3 separate regions of the Homo sapiens genome follow, and regions 2 and 3 are each linked to region 1. The links are contacts of gene promoters, found by promoter capture Hi-C in blood cells and fetal thymus (Javierre and others, 2016). All regions are on one chromosome and are shown on one strand. Each heading gives the region's core, a stretch centred on a gene start or on the middle of the fragment in contact. The rest is flanking DNA. Distances are from core to core; before and after follow the strand shown.

Region 1 (4,644 bases), core at 1,639-4,138:
GAAGGCCCAGTATAAGAAAATCCACTCCACAAAGGAATGTTGCTTCATCAATGGGTCTAATTCAGTCTTTCTTTAATAAGCATTGCACTGCTCTGAGAATTAAAAATGAGAATTGAAAAAGCACAAAATACGCATTGTCAAGAACAAATCTGGTGTGGCGCACCTGTCATCCCCGTTCTATGTAATTCCAGACTGTCAGGGAGCCAGAAAGGAGCCTCAGGGGGGAATGTGTCCAACCCTCTTCTTTGGTGGGGAAGCTGAGGCACAGGTAGAAGAAGATGTTTGTCCAAATTTATAGGAGCCCACCCCAAATTCTAGGCAGTGATGATAAATTTCAACATTCTCTGACTCCATCTCTATCTATCTATCTCTATCTCTCTATGCCAGATGCTATTCTAAATGAGCCTTACTATGGGAAGGACACTATTTTGAGACTCCTTGAGGTAGGTATTATTAAATTAAGCTTAGCCTAAAGCTGCCTCCTTACATATTTTAAGTTCGGATCAAAAGGTTTCTCTGTACATAATGAACTATAACTCAACTGGACGTGTAAACAGACTGTAAACTACTCTTGTTAACAATCACCAATTTTGCACAATCAAAGGCAGCCAACTGTTCAAACAGTGTTCAAATAAGGCTATTTCTGTACCTCACTTCCTTTTTCCATACACTGCTTGCCTTTTTCTGTCCATAAATCCTCTCCGACCACGCAGCTGTGTGGGAATCTCTCTGAATCTATTCTCCTTCGGGGGACTGCTCCATTTGAGAATTGTTCTTTGCTCAATTAAACTCTGTTAAATTTAGTTTGTCCAACATTCTTCTTTTGAGAGTAGTATTATTATTCCATTTTACAGATGAAGAAACTAAGGTACAGAAAGGTGAAGTGGCTTGCCCAAAGCTGACGGGGAACATGGTCAGTTCTCTGTCCACCACGACATGCAACTTTCTTTTGAATATGAGAAACTGAGACCCTTCTCCACCTCTTTTCCAAGATCCCTCTGAAGATCCAGCAGCTGACAGAGGAGTGCCATCAGGCTCAAGCCCACTGGCCACCATCTTCCTCACGACATTTTGGAGTTGAGGGACAGAAATCACAATGCATCTCTCTGCAATAAAGCCCTCAAGGAGAAGGCACAAGCTCAGGTGACCAGCTTCTCCCAGACCACTCCTATTTAATCAAGGTTAAGAAACCTGCTGCAGATGGGAATACGAGCCCCAACTATAGGCTCACTCTCTCAGAGTTCCATCTTAAATAGGGGAGTGAAGTTAAGAACCTTAAATAAGAATGTAATGATTCCATTCTTCCATTCCAAGGTAAGTTTGGACAATCTTTTTTTCAGAATGAATATGGCACCTATCATAATATTTGACACTTAATTCATAGATTAATTGGGAGTTCCTCAAAGAAGTCTGTTCTCTGTCCTGTATCCCTCCAGCAGCCTTCATGTTGATCCCTGACTCTGAAGAGATGAGCTTCCTGGGAAGATATCGCCCCATCACCCTGTCTCAGGGATGGACTATCCATCTCCAGTGGGAGCATGGCCACCCTCCGGATAGCTCAGCCCTTCTCACTCTTGGGTTTAGGGACCATCTAGTTTAGGCTCCCAGCATATTGCCAAGGAGGATGCCCCATGGCTGTGACTAAGGGTTCACCTTCTGCATGCCCTTGTGTACCCCCCTTACTGCTCAACAGTAAGAGGCTCTGATAACCCCCCAAGGCCTAGGGCCAAGTGACTTTGGTGAGGTAGAGACATGAACGAAGGAGCCCAGAGCAGAGGGCAAGGGAGGCAGCCTGGGAAAGAAAAGTCAAGAGGGGGCTGGAAGAATGGTGGGAAAAAAATGATGGTAAAGTTTGCAGAAACACATTGGGGGTGCAGAATGGACCACAAGCCAACTATAAGCCAAAACATAGGATGAGCTGATCTTTCCCAAACCCAGTGCTAGCCCATTCTTCCCAGAGTCCCAGGCTCTACCATGTCGGTAAGGTACAGAGAATTTGGAGGGGGCAGAAAACAAGACCTAAAGGAGAAATGAGAGCACAAAAGGGATTTCCTGGAGGAAAAGAAAGTGGAGGCACAGCAGAACAAGATCTTTGGAAGCCTTCATGTGTGTATGACTGGCTTTCCCACAGAGGACAGGCCAGCTGCTTTCTCCTACCCCAAGAGCAGCAGAAGAAAGGAAGTTGAGTGGTAGCAGGACTTGTGGTTAAACATCAAGAAGCACTTCCCAAGCATGAAAGTTATTAAGTCCAAAAAGAAGTGACCAACGGAGGTTGAAACATCCCCTTGAAAATCTTGAATGCACCCAGAAAGTCACAGTTTTCTGGGAAGGTTTAGGAGTGTAGTGAGGGGTTTAGACAAGATGCCCCTGAATTGCAGTTAGAATGCTTTTGATTTTCCAACCAGCAAAAATGAGATTAAAGTAGATTAGCCTGGATTCCCAATCGGCAAAGTTGGTGCTGTAACACTATGGATGCCCGGCAGGAGTGCTCACAGACCACAGAGCAGGAAACCCACGACTCAGCCACATAGCCCTGGGGTGCTCACCAGCCAGACCCCAAATCCCAGCAGCTTCTCCTCCCAGGGGCTTTTTCTAGAACCACGTTAAAAGGAGACCAAGAGATCTTGATCGTAAGTAGCTTCAAACTAGAAGAGGCACAGCCAGTTTCCCCCAAACCTGAAACACAGAGGTAGCTGTCCCACCTGTCTCCCAGCCTCAGCCCTGCTTCCTCAGCGCTGGGAGAATCTGGCCCGAGGCCTGAGGTCACACTCACCCCGTGGCTGTCCCTCTCCATGGTCTCTGAGGGGAAGAGTCCTCCAGGCTTAGCTGATGTCGAGGAGAAGATCCATCTTGGTCCCTGGCTTCTCAGGCATGTAGGGTAAAGGAGTTGGAGGGCCAAGGGCCAGCCCCCACCAAATGGGGCGGGGAAGCCGGTTGGGACGTGTGAAGTAATCCCCAGTATAAACAACACAGAACTAGCCAGACCTGTTCCTCTGCCCCTCATCGAGGCCATCCCAGTTACTCAGCGAATACCAAATTCCAAATACCGGGAACCTGAAGCTGCCTTTACTCATGAAACTGCCCCCACAGAAGCAGAGGAGTGTTCTGAGCTACTTCTTCAGAGGGGCCCTGAGAGAAAGGGCAGAGCCTTGAGAGGATGGTCTTGGTCCTGTTGACCTGAGCCCCTGAAACAGATGCTCCAGAGCCTTCTGAGGGATGACCCTATCCCCACAGGGGACGTTCCAGGCCAGGGGCAGAGCCCCACCTATGGCAGGACAGTGGGAACCTTCATCTCCAAGGACCAGGTGTCCAAATCCCAAATCAGGGCACATGGTCTCTGGGCGCATGGTCTGGCAATTGCTTTCTCCTGAACTCTGTTTGTTTTTATGAAACTCTTAACAAAGAAATGAAAATCAAATGACCTTTAATTATGCACATCATGAATTGCCCTCTATTGAAAACAATAAAGTGCCAGAAGCAACACATCAAAGTCAATGAAATAAAACATAACTATCTGAATGGAAACTGTTCCAAGAAACATTGGGCTGACTCGTGATCCCAAACCTATACCCTATTCTGATCCTCAGAGTCAAAAGAAGTAAAGGAAGGGCTATTGCAAAAGGAGTCCTTAGCACCTCCGGCTAAGTTCCAGCTGAGCTGCTGCTGAGAACTGCAAAAAAAAAAAAAAGAAAAAGGAGTTCCTGTTGAGGTTTGGGAAGAACTTTCTTGAGCATTCAGAGGCACCAAGATTTTTAGAGTTTGAAAGAAGCTCATGGATCTTTAGTGGTTCACTCTTTTCATTTTACAGACTGCGAGACAGAGGGCCAGAGAGGCTAAGGAATGTGCTCAAGTCACACAGCAAACAACAGCAGCAGCAATAATCTTAAGATGCCAAGAATCCTGCGAAACACTTCACACGCATCCTTCACGTGTTCATTCAACAAATATGTATTGAGTGCCTGGCATTGCTTTAGGTGCTGGGGACACAGGAACAAAATAGGCAAAGCCTCCTGCCCTGTGGCTCTAGTATTTGCGGGTTGGGGGGAAAAAGCAGACAAAAATCAATAAATCAGTTACACAGCCTCCTAGAAAGTGAAAAGTGCCGTTCACAAAAACAAAGCAGCGAAAGGATCCAGAAGGTAGGGGAGGCAGAGTCCTGGCAGTTGGGAACAGGATGGTCAGAGAGGGCTCTCTGTGGTGACATATTTGAGCAAAAACTGAAAGGAAGTGACTACTATCGCCCCCCATTTACATTCAAGAAAACGGAAACTTCTAGCTCACAGTGGAAACTGTGCCCCAGCTTAGGGTGTCTTGAGGGAAATCTAACCCAGAGGCAAGAGGCTGGAGGAGAGAACTCTGGAGGGCCCAGGCAGGGACCCTAGAGTTCTCTCATCTTGGCTTATTGTGGGAGCCACTTCCCTGGCTTTCAAAGAGAGCAGAATTCAGCCACAGGCCACATCCCCTTCCTGCCCCATCCACCAGCCCACCATGACAAAGGGGCCCCTCCCATCCATCCTCCTGAGAAGATACCCACCTCCTGTCCTCAGCTGCTCCTCTTCCCTCTCTCCCAGGGAGGAGCCCAGCCCCTCTCTGGCTGCCACTGAGCCCTGGCACGCCCAGGCCAGATCCGAGGGCCTCCACTTC
Region 2 (4,863 bases), core at 2,226-4,725, 490 kb before region 1:
TGGAGGCAACGGCCGGGAATAGCATCTGGAATTGGAAGCTCTGACTTGAAGGTTAAGAAAGACTTTATAAGCAGGGAAGGAGACACATGTCAAGAAGAGGGAATAGCACTAAGCACAGACATGGAGACCTGAAGCTCACGGCAGCTGTGAGGGTTTGCAAATACTCTGGGGTAACCAAAGCTTGAGTCCAAGGGGACGGGCAGAAGTAGAATCTTGGGGGCTTTGTTGGCAGGGCCAGGAGACTGGACTCCCTCTTAGAAAGCCGCCACCAGAGGGTTATAAGAAGTGGTGTTGGACAGGCCTGGTGGCTCACGCCTGTAATCCCAGCACTTTGGGAGGCTGTGGCAGGCGGATCACCTGAGGTTGAAGTCAGAAGTTCAAGACCAGCCTGGCCAACATGGCAGAACCCTGTCTCTCTACTAGAAATACAAAAAATTAGCCGGGCACGATGGCAGGTGCCTGTAACCCCAGCTACTCGGGAGGCTGAGGCGAGAGAATCGCTTGAACCTGGGAGGTGGAGGTTGCAGTGAGCCGAGATCATGCCACTGCACTCCACGCTGGGTGACAGAGCAAGACTCTGTCTCAAAAAAAAAAAAAAAAAAAAAAAAAAAGGAGTGGTGTCCTCAGCCGATTTCAGATGCATCCTGGCTGCTTGCAGAGGATAGTTTGGTGGAGGGGGTCCTGGAGGACACAGAACGTGACAGGATGGTGGCCAGAATGCAGGCTGGAGGTGATGCGTAGCAGTGGGGAGATGAGGGGCTCAGAGCAAGAGCTGACAAAACTTAGGGTCTGGCTGGTTTGGGGGAAGAGAGCGGGGAGGGAAGGATGGCTCCCAGGATTCTGGCTGGGCCACCAAGGTGAGTGATGGCACCCTCATGGGAACAGGGCACACTGAAGGAGGGGCAGGCTTGGCAGGAAGGACCGGATGGCTTCATCTCATACTGAGTCCACAGTGCAGCCACAGCTGTAGCTAGACCACAGGTGGGTGCGTGTTCTGGAGCACCAGAGAGATGCCTGGACCAAAGACGCTGATCTGAGAGTCAGCAGGCATGATGAGGCCACAGGAGGGGATGCAGACTGACAGGGAAGTGACCAACTCTAGGATCAGCATGCACAGGCACAGAAGAGAGGACGGGAGTGTCCCAAGGGTGGTGGCGGAGGACTGGGTCAGCAGCATCACAGAAGGTGCGGGGCCACAGGTGCCCAGAGTGTGGTGGGTGGGTAAATGCATCTAGTGCCTGGGAGATCGCCAGGCCCAGATTTAAAGGAACCAAGTGCCCAAGTGCCTCAGAGAGTAGAGGAGGCCCATGGAGCTGGGGCCCTTCTTGGGGTGGAGGGAGAGTGAGAGTGAGGGAGCAGCTGAGAGGTTCAGGTGCATGGCGTGGGGGTGGGCTCCTGTGCTGGTCGTGCCAGGTGCCAAGGGGCTCTCAGAGCAGGGGAGTTCTGGGGTCTGCTTGGAGCAGTGGGGGCACCAGACAGGCCCGGCAGAGGGGTCCACATGAAGACGGCCTCCATGCGGGGGCGGTGAGAAGCCTGGGGGCTTTGTGGGTGTTCTCAGAGTTTCTCCAGAGATCAGGTTCCAGACCTGGTTTTGCCACAGGCTGGGGTTGGCTCCCTGAATCTGTGTCTCAGGGTGTGTGTGCATATGTGTGTGTATGTGTGGGTGTGTATGTGCATCTGCATGTGAGTGTGTGTATGTGTGTGTGTGTGTTAGTGTATGTGTGTGCGCAGATGCGTGTTTGTGCACATGCATGTGAGTGCATGTTGTGTATGTGCATATGTGAGTGTGCACGTGTATGCATGTGTGTATGCGTGTGTATATGCGTATATGCATGTAGTGTGTATAGTGTGTATGTGTGTGCATGTGTGCATGTATTAGTGTGTCTAGTGTGTGTGTGCGTGTGTATGCATGTGCATATGTGTGTGCATGTATTAGTGTGTATAGTGTGTATGTGTGTATATGTGTGCATATGTGTATGCATGTATTAGTGTGTATAGTGTGTATGTGTGTGCATGTGTGTATGCATATATTAGTGTGTATAGTGTGTGTATGCATGTGTGTGCACATTAGTATGTGTATGTGCGTAAATGTATGTGTGGGTCTGTGTGTATAAGTGTGTGCGCGTGCATATGCATGTGTTTGTGCGTGTGCACATGTATGAGTGTGCAGTGTGTGTGTGCGTGTGTGTGTATGGGGGAAGGGGGCAGGAGTGGTTGTCTTTCCCACCTCACAGGGCGGCTGTGAGGTGACGCTGTGTGAATGTGTTCTAGGAAGTCCACAGCTCTCTAGGACCGTGTTTATTTAATGCCCCCAGGAGAAGAGGCCAGCCTTCTGCAAAGATGCCCAGCCCTCACACTCCTGCCTCTGGGCCAGTGCTAGCTGTTCTGGAAGGGTGATAGGCTTTAGGCCCCTTCCCTTCCTGAAGAAGAGGTTGGTGGTAGGGGTTAGGGGGTGGTAGGAGGTGCTGAGGCTGTGTGGAAAGAGCCCTGACTTGGCGCTGGGAGAGCTAGCTCACTCCTTCCCGGTTGTCTTTGCAGCCCATGCCACTCCTGCCTCAGGTTGCTCAGCTGTGGAATGGGTCAACAAGCCCTGCTGGCAGGGCAGGTGGAAGCCCCTGGCCCACCGTAGGCCCTCGATCAGATGCTGGCTGGCTCTGAGCCCGCGGCAGGGTAGGGCTTGGGGCTCTTGTGTTTGGGCCAAGAGAAGCTTGAGTGGCCCCGGTAGGCTGGCCAGGCTGCGCAGGCACCACCTCCTCTCGTCTGGGCTGCGGTGGATAAGAGAGTGGGGGAGTGAGGAGGGGCCCAGGGAGGCCCAACGGCAAGTAGAGGACCTGCGGTCCTGGGCTAGTTGTGGCCAGTTCCTACGCCCCAGGGAGAGGCAGACGCTCAGCCTTGCAGCTCTACCTGCGCGGCTGCTACAGCTTGCCCTTGGGATGAGGCCTTGGAAGTGTCATTCCTCTGAAAAGTGGGGGTGCAGCCCCCATGGCACACCCATGTCCCGGTCAGAGATTCAGTGGGGCACTCCCTAAGAGGGTCTGATTCTAGCCCAGAGCCTTCCTTCACAGCACGCGCTCCGTAAAGGTCTGCGGATCGCAGGAATCCGCCATCGCTGGAATCACCCCTGCCCGGTGTCCAGTTCAGCACGGGGGCTCTCCTTTGAGCCTCAGCTGCTCTGTGGAAGCAGCACACCCGGCTGTAGCCACCTCTGGAGGAGCTGAGCATTGGGACAAAGGCCCGGCTTTGAATTGGGGGTAGAGGCGACTCCCCCTTTTTCAAGCTGGGAGTAGGGTTTGGACTCGGGAACTGAGTGCACCCTGTCCACCCGCCCCAGGCAAGAGCCGGAGGCAGCCTGTTGTGAGGCTTTGCTGGAGTCAGGGGGCAGCAGAGGCCCAGTCTTGGTGTGTGCGGGAGGCAGGCGGGTGGCCAGTTCCTCACAGCTGGGTGGCAGATAAAGCGGAGCAGGCAGAGACCCTGTCTGGGGAGAACCAGGATTCTGTAAGGGAGCTTTTGGAAGTGTTTGCCCCTCTGCCACAGCCTCAGGCTTCTCACCCTTGCCAGCAGGCTCGATGGTCACCTTCTCGCTGCTGTTGCCCCGGCCGGCAGAGGTGACGGCGGCCACCCACAGCAGATACTGCTGACCGCGGTTTAGGTGGGCGATCCGGTAGAAGAGCTGCTCTGGACTCGTCTCGTACTCGCTGGGAGCCTGCGGGGCAGAGGCAAAGAGGCTCTAAGAAGCAGAACTGGGGCCCTCCAGCGTCCAAATCTTCCTCAGTGCCCGGGGCTCAGAGGAGAGGATGGCGGGGTCGGATGCGAGGCAGGATTCTGTCCTATTTGCCCTTTCCAAGTTTTAGAGATGCAGCGGACAGAGTGTGCCCTGGGTTTGGTCCCTGGGAGCTGATGGGCCTGCCTCGCGGTGTTGCTGGGTCAGCCTCAGTTTACCTCTTTAACTGATCCACGCTCTGGCAGCTGTGGCTCAGGCCAGGGGATGTGAGTACTTTAGGTGAGGGACGGGGTAGCCAGGAGAAGGGAGAATGGGGGACAGGGGGTCCCAGGAAAGCCCTGAGGAAAGAGTCTTCAGGAAGAAGGCAAATGACTGCCTCTGCCTGATGAGGGTTGGAGACAGGCTCCTGCAGCCTGCTCTGGCTCCCGTCACCTCCTAGCCCTGCCGTCTAATTACCACTCCTGCATTTTGCAGGCAGCACGCCCGCCCGTCCAGGGAGGAGGGGGCGGGAGAAGGAACTATGAAAGCTTTACTGGGTAGCACTTTATTAATGATTATTAGTGGTATAGATCACCATATATATTTGTAGGTTATACAAATCTATAAAATTTTTTTTAACAAAATGACAGTTTTGACAAGTTGCCAACAAAACAATATCGGATCCCAGTGGTTTTACCAGTTGCTTTGATGAAAAGATTATGTTGCCTTGGAAACCAGAGGCTCAGATATTGAAATGAATTTGAGAAGGAGCTTTTGATAAGCGCTAGTTTGCAGACCTCCTGTCAGCCTCTTCCCTGGCACGGGCGGGATGGGGCTGACTTTCATTTTATTTTATTTTTTGGTCAGCCGCAGGGAAGGGAGAGGAGGACAGCACCAGGGCCCCTTTGAAAACAGAGCGGAAGTCCAGGGAGGGAGAGCAGCCCCAGAACAGATGGGGGCCCGAGGCCAGAGGGAGCTAATAATTAGTTATCTCTGCAGTCACAGGATCTTGCACACACACGCTCACAAGCACACACACATGTAGACGCATGCACACATGCTGAGGAACAGACCTCCAGGCATGTATGGGCACAGAGGGACATTCTTCATGCCCCATAGTGGGGCTGAGAGGCCCAATAACTTATAACAGGAGGAGACATCCT
Region 3 (4,514 bases), core at 563-3,062, 510 kb before region 1:
GGCTCAAGGGCGATCTGACCCAGGCGGTTCCTTGGAGTCTGGGCTGGGCTGCGGTGACACCCCTGGTGCCCCAAAATCCACCGTGCACTCCTCTAGTCTCTGAATCCCCATGGAGGGGTGTCAGAGCCTGGCAGGCGTGGGACCTGTGCCTCCTGGGGAAGGAGGCTGAGGTGGGCAGGACCCAGGGTGTCAGGCAGAGTCAGACACTGTAGAAATGCCTGGGGGAGGGTGGGGATGGGAGACTTGTAGTCTAAGCTTGCAGGACCTGCCAAGTCCCCTCTCCCTTGGTGTTGCCGACAGAGCCCCATGGTGGCTGGAGGCCTGGCTTTCGTGCGGGGCATTGGTCTGAGGCGGCTGGCCGCAGTGGTGGCTGGTGGTGGCTGCCCGGGTGCTGAGCCCGGATGTGTCCAGTCAGCGCGTACTGGAGATGCCACTTGTCACAAAGGCCCTGGCGGGGCTCAGCTGGGGACACGCAGGGCCATGCCTGGAATGGTGCCATCCACCTCCACTGGGCCCAGGAAGGGTGGAGCTCAAGAGAGAAAGAATGGCACCCACAGAGGCAGGACGTCTTAGGGCAGAGCTCACCATCTGGGTGATGCCTCCTGGGGGAGGTGAGGCATTGGCCCAGCATGGATGGGGTGGCATTTTACTGCGCCGTCCACCCTTTCTGGTGACTCCCAGGAGTTGGGGGCCCAGTGCTAGCTCCTGGTTGGGACTGATGACAGTGAATTTGAGGACATCAGAGGCCTTCAGAGCTTCCCTTTCTGCACAGGCTGTGAATCCTCTTGGTGAGCTTCAGTAGGTTCTCTAGGGCAGCAAGGGACCTTCATATCCCACCTGCTTCCCTGGACACAAATCTGGGCAGGAAAACAAACAAACAAACAAAAGCTGGGCATGGTGTTCCTCGCCTGTAGTCCCAGCAACTCGGGAGGCTGAGGTGGGAGGATCGCTTGAGGCCGGGAATTCCAGGTTGAGCGCACCATGATTGCGCCACTGTACTCCAGCCTGGGCAACAGCAAAACCCTGACCAAAAAAAAAAAAAAAAAGAAAGAAAGAAAAGAAGAAACAACAACAGCAACAACAAAACCTGGGCAGATGAGGCAAATCCTGGCTTCTCTGGAATCTGACCCTCTGGTCTGCTGGTTTGTATCTTGTCTAATCCCCATTTCATAGTTAAAAGCTTTTTAACCTCATTATTTCCTTTCAGTCTTATCAACCTGGCAGCATGGGAGTTATTCTCGCATTTCATAGAAGCGGAAATTGAGGCCCATGAGGGCGAAGGTGCTTTCCCGAGGTCACAGAGCTGGCAAGGGAGCAGCAGGATTGACTCCGCAGCCCCTGCGTTTCCATCGCAGTGCCCGCCACATAGTAGGAACTCTACACATGGCGCCTTCTGGGGGCCGCCTGGCTTTCTGGAAAGGATCCGAAGTGGTTTGGTGAGCACCGGCTTTGGAATTCAAACCCTGGCTGATGCCTCTTGCCGGCTGAGTGGCCTTGTACAAGTCACCTGACCTCTTTGACTTCTTTCTTAGCCAATAAAATGGAGATCACACATCTTCAGGGCAGAAATTACAAACACATTAATTTCCCATCCATAGATCCTTCCCACGAATCACCAAAGAGGAGGCCTGCCTTGCCTGCGGTTTCTCCCACCTCCTCTGCCTCCCCTATGCCCAACTGTTGCTGTTTCCTAATGGAAAATGGGGGGAAATGAATGTGAGAGAACATTCCCCAGAGGAGAGGAGGGCGGAGCTGAGCAGGGCTGGAGAAGAGCAGGCAGTGTGTGGGGGGATGTGGGAGGCACAGGCTCCGTAGGGTGTCAGCGGGTGTCACTTACATCTGCTCTTCGGACCCCTTCAGGATCACAAAAACAAAAGCAGATAACTTGAGTTATTTAAAACTTTCGTTTTGGTGGCTGAGTGGATTGAGGTTCTTTGACTGGCACTACGGCCCTGAGACACCACCACTTGGGTTTTGTGCTTATAGGAGTTACTCTTTTTTACAGGGTAGTGGTAAAACTAGGAGAGTATCCGTGCTAAGTGGTTATCAGGGTGCTTGACTCAAGTAGACTCTCAGCAAACGGCAGCAGGCATGATGGTATTCTGTTGTGTTGTTTTCTTGTAACTTGGGGACACTATGCGGAGAGAACCAATGTTTCAGGAGATCTCGGCCTTCACTGGTCTACTCCTTGCCCGTTTCTCCCACTGTTTACCCTTTGTTCATCTATGTCTAACATATGTTGTGCTCCTATTAAGTCAGGCACTGTCCCTTCTCTGGAAGAGACAGTGGAACCCTTCTCTGCCCTTGGGGAGCCTGTCTGCTGAGGACGATGTTCAAATACCATCTGTGGAGGGCTTCTGAGTTGGGAAGGGATGAGACTTGTTTTGTGGTGCCCCCCAGGAGTGGCAGTACCGAGCCTTGTGAGTAGAAGTTGGAGGGGCCACCCAAGCTTAGTGTGAGGGAGGTTTTGCTGTTAGAGCTGTCACAGGTGAGATGTGCTGGCTGGGGAAGTGATGAGTTCTCCATCAGGAGGTGTGCACGGGAAGGCCAGACCACTCTTGCTGATTGCAGATGGAATTCCCAATTTGGGTGGAAGCGTGGACCAGGTGGCGTTGAAGGTCTCTTTGAGTCCTGAGATTGTGCGATTCTTAGAGACACTAAAACCAAGTATGGATCACCTCCAGGGTAATCCAGCTGGCATCTATTCCTCCTTCGGCCTAGAGTATTGTTGTCATTGCCCAGAAGAGGACATGGATTCTGGGAGGAAGGACAGAGCCCTGACTCAGGGTTCATGCTCAGCCTGGTTCTCCCACCCTTCTCCTACAGACACACAGATGCCCTCCTCCTCTCTAAGCTCACCAGCGTCTCCCTTTGCCTTTCCCACCCTTTACCTGTATAGGAATCCAATATGTAGGGTAAGAGGAGGTGACATGGTATGGTGGGTGACATGGTATGGCAGGCGGTGCGGGGGAGGATGCCCTGGGCCTGATCTATCAAGGGAGAATTTCTATGGGGAGCCAAGTTCCCCTTCATCTCCTGCATAAATTAAGATGATGCTAATTGTTGTAAAATAAACTCCAAAGTATCGGTGCTTACTGCAAGTTTATTTCTTGCTCACATAAAGTCCAGCTGGCATTGAAGGGGATAGAGGGGCCTCTGCGCTACATCGATGTATAAGCCAGGGTGATAGAGGATCTGCCATCTTCAATAAGTGGCTTCCAAGTTCACCTTGGGCATTGACTTACAGTTGGAGAGAGCAGAGGGTGGCCAGGGAAGTTTTTATGAGCTGGACCTGAAAGTAGCGTGTATCACTTATGCCACATTCCGCTGGTCAAAGCTCAGTCTCATCGCCTTCTCTGAGAATCGGGGGCCTGGAACTGTAGTCACGGGATGCGTAGCGACTTCCCCGCAACAACTGTGCACTGTGGAGGATCATGAGGCTTTGGCAGACAGCAAACCCTCCCTGCTGTTCCCTGACCCAGGCTTCCCTCCTTCCGCCTCCGCCAGTTTGCGCACACTCCGGGGAGTGAGCCTTTGAGCGCAGGAAGAGACCCACAGGGCCTTTGCATCTCCAGTGCCCAGCTCAGTGCCAGATCATTGGAAGTGCTTCTGGGTATTTGGTGAATGAACAAATACTTGGGTATCATTTCGCTTGTTAAAAATACAGATGCCACAAGGTCAGGAGTTCAAGATCAGCCTGGCCAACATGGTGAAACCCTGTCTCTACCAAAGATACAAAAATTAGCTGGGTGTGGTGGCGCATGCCTGTAATCCCAGCTACTCAGGAGGCTGAGGCAGGATAATTGCTTGAACCCGGGAGGTGGAGGTTGCAGTGAGCCGAGATGGTGCCACTGCACTCCAGCCTGGGCTACAGATTGAGACTCCGTCTCAAAAACAAACAAACAAACAAACAAAAAATACAGATGCCTGGGGGAAAACAGTTTGTTCGTTCCTCAAAAAGTAAGACATAGAATGAGCATGTGATTCAGCAGTTCCAGTCCTGGCTATATTCCCAAAAGAATTGAAAAGAGGGGCTCAAACAGATCCTTGTACACCTGTGTTCATAGCAGCATTATTCACAATAGCTGAGAGGCAGAAGCAACCCACGTGTCCACCAGGAGAGGAAATGAATGGAGAAGCAACATGTCGTAAATAATGGAATATCCTCAAACAGGAGTGGAATTCTGACACATGCTGCAACATGGATGCAGCTTGAAGACATGATGCTAAGTGAAATAAGCCAGAACCAAAAGGACACATATTGTATGATTCCACTTATACAAGGTACCCAGAATAGGCAGGTTCATACAGACAGAAAGTAGAATGGTGGTTGCCAGGTGCTGAGAGAGAGGAAGATGGGGAGTTATTGATTAATGGGTACAAAGTTTCTTTCTGGAATGATGAGAAAGTTCTGGAAATGGATAGTGATTTACAACAAGGTGAATATACTTAATGCTGCTGAATTGTACATTTTAAAATGGTTAAAATGGCGAATTTTATGTATCTTTTACCAC

Evidence for each region. Contacts are between HindIII fragments. The CHiCAGO score rates a contact against its expected background, and 5 or more counts as called.
Region 2: a contact is called between a fragment that was not itself captured here and the fragment with the promoter of TMPRSS13 in region 1, in 3 of 17 cell types (M1 macrophages, M0 macrophages and endothelial precursors). The highest score is 12.6, in M1 macrophages.
Region 3: a contact is called between a fragment that was not itself captured here and the fragment with the promoter of TMPRSS13 in region 1, in 4 of 17 cell types (M0 macrophages, M2 macrophages, M1 macrophages and 1 more). The highest score is 8.2, in M0 macrophages.

Annotation. Positions count from the first base shown.
Region 1 is chr11:117,926,514-117,931,157 of GRCh38, forward strand. It overlaps TMPRSS13 (transmembrane serine protease 13), which reads right to left and starts at 2,889. Exons shown (of 13, transcript NM_001077263.3): 1 at 2,774-2,889. The coding sequence starts at 2,794. The HindIII fragment of the contact is 10,649 bases long and covers 462-4,644 here.
Region 2 is chr11:117,440,337-117,445,199 of GRCh38, forward strand. It overlaps DSCAML1 (DS cell adhesion molecule like 1), which reads right to left. Exons shown (of 33, transcript NM_020693.4): 21 at 3,550-3,703. Among named protein-coding and RNA genes, the nearest start is that of CEP164, 110 kb to the left of the region's middle. RefSeq lists an enhancer at 2,220-3,200. The HindIII fragment of the contact is 1,541 bases long and covers 2,706-4,246 here.
Region 3 is chr11:117,419,865-117,424,378 of GRCh38, forward strand. No RefSeq gene overlaps it. Among named protein-coding and RNA genes, the nearest start is that of CEP164, 94 kb to the left of the region's middle. RefSeq lists an enhancer at 397-897. The HindIII fragment of the contact is 1,269 bases long and covers 1,179-2,447 here.